Regions from separate parts of the Homo sapiens genome. Here region 1 is linked to region 2. The links are contacts of gene promoters, found by promoter capture Hi-C in human tissues and cell types (Jung and others, 2019). All regions are on one chromosome and are shown on one strand. Each heading gives the region's core, a stretch centred on a gene start or on the middle of the fragment in contact. The rest is flanking DNA. Distances are from core to core; before and after follow the strand shown.

Region 1 (2,913 bases), core at 39-2,538, 640 kb before region 2:
CGCCATATTCTTTATGACGTGATTCCTCAGTCATCAGAAAGTTGATAGGTGTCATAAAAGCAAGCAGTATCATTCTAAAAGCAAGACTCATTGTATAGTCAGCCTTTAGGTTATGTGAGGTTATGCACAGGTAACAAATTTTGAATGGGAAGAGAGGTTAAATTTTTGCTATGTTGGTATTATTCTTCCATTCCCTTAAAATCTCTGGTTAGATTTGAGTCATTCAGTAAAAAAAAATTACAGTTAAGCATCAATGACATAAATACTTTCTGAAAAATACATTATTAGGTGATTTCATTGTTGTGTGAACATCATACAGTATACTTACACAAGCCTAGATTGTATAGCCTACTACACACGTAGGCTATATGGCATAGCCTGTTGCTTTTAGGCAACAAACCTATACAGCATGTTACTGTACTGAATACTGTAGGCAGTTGTAATGCAGTAGAAAACACTTGTGTATCTCAACATATCTAAAAATTGAAAAGGTACAGTAGGCCTGGCCTGTGGCTTATGCCTGTAACCCAGCACTTTTGGGAGCTGAGGTGGGCAGATTGCTGGAGCCCAGGAGTTTGAGATCAGCCTGGGTGACATGGCAAAACCGCATCTCTACAGAAAATTAAGAAATTAGCAGGGCGTGGAGGCATGCACCTGTAGTCCCAGCTACTCAGGAGGCTGAGGAGGGAGGATCACTTGAGCCTAGAAAGTCAAGGCTGCAGTGAGCCATAATCATACCACTGCACTCCAGCCTGAGTGACAGAGTGAAACCCTGTCTCAAAAGAAATAACAATAAAAAAGAAAACAGAAAAGGTACGTAAAAATATAGTATAAAAGATTGTTTAAATGGTACACCTGTATAGGGCATTTACCATGAATGGAGCTTGCAGGACTAGAAGTTGCTCTGGGTGAGTCAGTGAGTGAGTGGTGAGTGAATATGAAGGCCTAGGAGATTACTGCACCACTGTAGGCTTTATAAATCTTGTACACTTAAGCTAAACTAAATTTATTTAAAAATTTGTTTTGTCTTCAGTAATAGACCTTAGCTTACTGTAACTTTTTTACTTTATAACTTTTTAACTTTTAAAAACATTTTGATTCTTTTAAAATAACACTTAGCTTAAAATACAAATACCTTGCATAGCTCTACAAATTGTTTTCATCATATAATTTTAATATTTTTCTATTTTTAAAATTTTCTTTTTTCTTTTTTTACTTTGTAAAATTGTGTTTTTTTTTTTTTAAACTAAGGCATAAGCACAGATGTGAGTCTAGGCCTACAGAGTCAGAATCATCAATATTACTACCTTCCACCTCCATATCTTGTTCCAATGGAAAGTCTTCAGGAACAGTAACACTTGTGGAACTGCCATCTCCTACAATAGCAATGCCTTCTTATGGAATACTTCCCGTAGTACCTGCCTGAGTCTGTGTTACAGTTAACATACACATGTGTATATGTATGTATGTATATGTGTATGAGTCTGTGTTATAATTAACATACACGTATATATGTATGTATATGTATATGTGTATCTAAGTCTGTTATAGTTAACATACACATATATATGTATATGTATATCTGAGTCTGTGTTGCAGTTAACATACACGTATATATGTATATGTGTATCTGAGTCTGTGTTACAGTTAACTTTATATATATATAAACTTCATACATATAAATAGAATGAGTACACTCTAAAATGCACTTTATACATATATGTATAAATAGAATGGGTACACTCTAAAATAATAAAATGTATAGTATAGTAAGTTTTCACTTAATGTTGTTGATAATTTCTTGGAAACTGCAACTTTAAGTAAAATGATGTATCAGGAAATAAATTTTATCACAGGCAGATTAATACAAACAAAAGTTAAGTATCGGGGTAACCCGCCCCCGATAATTCAACATGAGTCCTTTTCTATTTTTCCTAAGTGTCAGCCAGTCTGAGAAATAAAGGGAAAGAGTACAAAGAGAGAAATTTTAAAGCTGGGTGTCCGGGGGAGACATCACATGTCAGCAGGTTCCGTGATGCCCCCGCAAGCCGCAAAACCAGCAAATTTTTATTAGTGATTTTCAAAAGGGGGAGGGAGTGTACAAATAGGGTGTGGGTCACAGAGATCACGTGCTTCACCAGGTAATAAAATATTACAAGGCAAATGGAGGCAGGGTAAGATCACAGGACCGGGGCGAAATTAAAATTGCTAATGAAGTTTCAGGCACACATTGTCGTTGGTAACATCTTATCAGGAGACAGGGTTTGAGAGCAGACAACCAGTCTGACCAAAATTTCCTCGTCCTAATAGGCCTGGGAGCGCTACAGGAGACCAGGGCTTATTTCATCCCTTATCTTCAACCGTAAAAGACAGATATTCCCAGAGCGGCCATTTTAGAGACCACCCCCTAGGAACGCATTCTCTTTCTCAGGGCTGTTCCTTGCTGAGAAAAAGAATTCAGCGATATTTCTCCTATTGCTTTCGAAAGAAGACAAATATGGCTCTGTTCTGCCCAGCTCTCAGGCAGCCAGACTTAATGGTTATCTCCCTTGTTCCCTGAACATTGCTGTTATCCTGTTCTTTTTTCAATGTGCCCAGATTTCATATTGTTTAAACAATTTGTGCGGTTAACGCAGTCATCGCAGGGTCCTGAGGCGACATACATCCTCAGCTTATGAAGATGACAGGATTAAGAGATTAAAGTAAGACAGGCATAGGAAATCACAAGAATATTGACTGGGGAAGTGATAAATGTACATGAAATCTTCACAATTTATGTTCAGAGATTGCAGTAAAGACAGGTGTAAGAAATTATAAAAGTATTAATTTGGAGAACTAATAAATGTCCATGAAATCTTCACAATTTATATTCTTCTGCCATGGCTTCAGCTGGTCCCTCCATTCGGGATCCCT
Region 2 (3,062 bases), core at 390-2,889:
CGCCTCGGCCTCCCAAAGTGCTGGGATCACAGGCGTAAGCCACCGCGTCCGGCCTATTATGTGTATATATATATATTTATATATTATATATATATATTTATATATTATATATATATATTTATATATTATATATATATTTATATTATATATATATTTATATATTATATATATATTTATATATTATATATATATTTATATATTATATATTTATATATTATATATATTTATATATTATATATTTATATATTATATATATTTATATATTATATATTTATATATTATATATATATTTATATTATATATATATTTATATATTATATATATATTTATATATTATATATATTTATATATTATATATATTTATATATTATATATATTTATATATTATATATATATTTATATATTATATATATTTATATATTATATATATTTATATATTATATATATATTTATATATTATATATATTTATATATTATATATATTTATATATTATATATATATTTATATATTATATATATTTATATATTATATATATTTATATATTATATATATATTTATATATTATATATATTTATATATTATATATATTTATATATTATATATATATTTATATATTATATATATTTATATGCTATATATATATTTATATATTATATATATTTATATGTTATATATATATTTATATATTATATATATTTATATGTTATATATATATTTATATATTATATATATTTATATGTTATATATTTATATATTTATATATTATATATATTTATATATTATATATTTATATATTATATATTTGTATATATTTATATATTATATATATTTATATATTTTATATATATATTTTTATATATATATATTTTTTAATGCCCCAGTGTATTTCTAAGGGAGATACAGGTGTCTGACCCACAAACCACGTTTGTAAGGTCAGGCTGCCTTCTCCAGGTAGAACCGCGCAGGCGAGGATTTATCTGCAAGGCAAGCCGGAGGGACCACATCTCTTTCCAGAGCAGCGCTGACCAGGTTAGTTTCGGCTCTCAGTTTCGCTTTGAACTTGAATTGGAAACCGAAACAAATCCGAGGGGCGTTGGGAAAACGAAACTGAGGAAGTTGCTCTTCGGTAGCACAGGGCACCATTTTCCTGGTTCCTGTGGCTCTTCGGGCCCCGAGGAATCCAAGGCTCCCAGCACCCCTCCCTGCCTGGCCCGCGGCGCCCAGCATCTGAGCCGCTCCCTGCACCTGGGCCCCCGCGCCCCTCACCCGGGTCCCAGCGCTCCGCACCCGGTTCCCTGCGCCCGGTACCCAAGCCCCCGCGCCCATGTACTGGGGTCCTCACACCCTGCACCTGGGGCCCCCCGCTCACCTGGCAGCTCCCCGCGCTGCGCGCCCCTGCGGCCCAGCTGACCCCTGCTGTTGTCTCCGCACGAGAGGACCCTGTGGTTGGTCAGCAGCAGCAGAGAGTGGCGCTCCCCGCTGGCCGCCTGCAGTAGCTCAGCCCCGGGGCTGCCCGCCGTCCTCCGGCGCTGCAGCTCCCTGGAGTCGGCGCCCCAACAGAAGTACATCCCGCTTCTGCGCCCTGTCGCCTGCTCCGGATTCCGTCGGTCCCGCTGCGACAGGCTCCCGAACGCTGGTGACTGGGTGCGCGATGATTTCCTGAATATCAAGAGACTCACCCTGTCTTCAACCCGCCCCAGGGGCGCAGCCCTGGCCCCATGTCAACTCTCGCTGCCTGAACTTCAAGTGCTGAAGAGCAGAGAGGGCGTCCCAGGGAATAAAACTGAGTTTACATCCTAAGCCATTTATGAGTCGTGAATGCCACTTTGGGCAAGTTACCTAATGATTCCGTGCTTCAGCTATCATATCTACGAAATATGGACTGCAATTCAGCAAATCTAATATGTCGGGATAATTTAATAGGCACATAAAGTGTTAGAATAATACCTAGAGTGGTTAATAAAGCATCTGAGTGCCCACCTCATTCCAGACCTTTTTTGGCATTGAAAATATGTTTGTTTTTTGTTTGTTTGTTTGTTTGTTTGTTTGAGATGGAGTGTCGCTCTGCTGCTCAGGCTGGAGTGCAGTGGCACCATCTCGGCTCACTGCAACCTCCACCTCACGGGTTCAAGCTGATTCTCTTGCCTCGGCCTCCCGAGTAGGTGGGATTACAGGCATGCGCCACGACGCCCGACTTAATTTTTGTATTTTTAGTAAAGATGGGGTTTCACCATGTTGGCCAGGCTGGTCTCGAACTCCTGACCTCAAGTGATCCACCCCTCAGCTTTCCAAAGTGCAGGGATTACAGGCGTGAGCCTCTGGGCCCCGCCTGAAAATACAATTAGTGAAAGACAAGATCCTCTTGATGCGTTTACATTCTCCTGAGGGAAAGAGAACATAAACAGATAAACACATAGTGTAATATCAAGGGGCAACGAAAAATACAACAGGAACCAGAGGGTGGAGGCGGAAGGCACTGGTATTTGAGATGATATTAGGGAAGATCTCTCTGATGAAGTGATATTTGTGCAGAGAGCTGAGGGGACATGGGAAATGAGGGAATGAGTCGTGATCACACCTGAGGGCAGAGGATGAAAAGAAGCAGTTGGAAGGTTTTGAATAGAGAAGAGCCATGATCTGACTTCAGTTTTTAAAGATTCATCTGGCTGCTGTGTGAAAAATAATAGGACAAAAATGGAAGCAGAAAGCCAGTTAGCAGAGACTACTTCAGAGTTCAGGTCAGGTGATATCCTAGAAGGGAAGAGAGGAGAAGTTATTAGATTCAAGACATGTTTTGAAAGTAAGAGTCCACAGATTTGATGATGGATTAGAAATTGGGGGGAAAGAAGAAAAGGGATTAGGGATTACTCCAGGGTTGGCTTTAGGGGTTACTCCAAGGTAAACTCTACTGGACTGGGAAACCCTGAGGAAGGTGCAGGTTTAAGCTATGTGTGTCTGGAATACAGATTGGTAATGATAACTGTAAGATGCTTGTTAATCAAGAAGGCAATAGGATAAACTGTTTTGGAGTTGTAGAGAGAAGCTTGGGTGTAGTCAGAAA

Evidence for each region. Contacts are between HindIII fragments. The study calls those that stand out against the background at their distance.
Region 1: a fragment that was not itself captured here is called in contact with the fragment with the promoter of HERC6 in region 2 in 1 of the 25 tissues and cell types used here (mesenchymal stem cells).

The regions. Positions count from the first base shown.
Region 1 is chr4:89,014,519-89,017,431 of GRCh38, reverse strand. The region is part of intron 3 of FAM13A (family with sequence similarity 13 member A); the gene reads left to right. Among named protein-coding and RNA genes, the nearest start is that of FAM13A, 41 kb to the left of the region's middle. The HindIII fragment of the contact is 6,922 bases long and covers 1-2,913 here.
Region 2 is chr4:88,377,429-88,380,490 of GRCh38, reverse strand. It overlaps HERC6 (HECT and RLD domain containing E3 ubiquitin protein ligase family member 6), which reads right to left and starts at 1,639. Exons shown (of 23, transcript NM_017912.4): 1 at 1,371-1,639. The coding sequence starts at 1,569. RefSeq lists an enhancer at 887-1,216 and a silencer at 1,227-1,416. The HindIII fragment of the contact is 12,273 bases long and covers 1-3,062 here.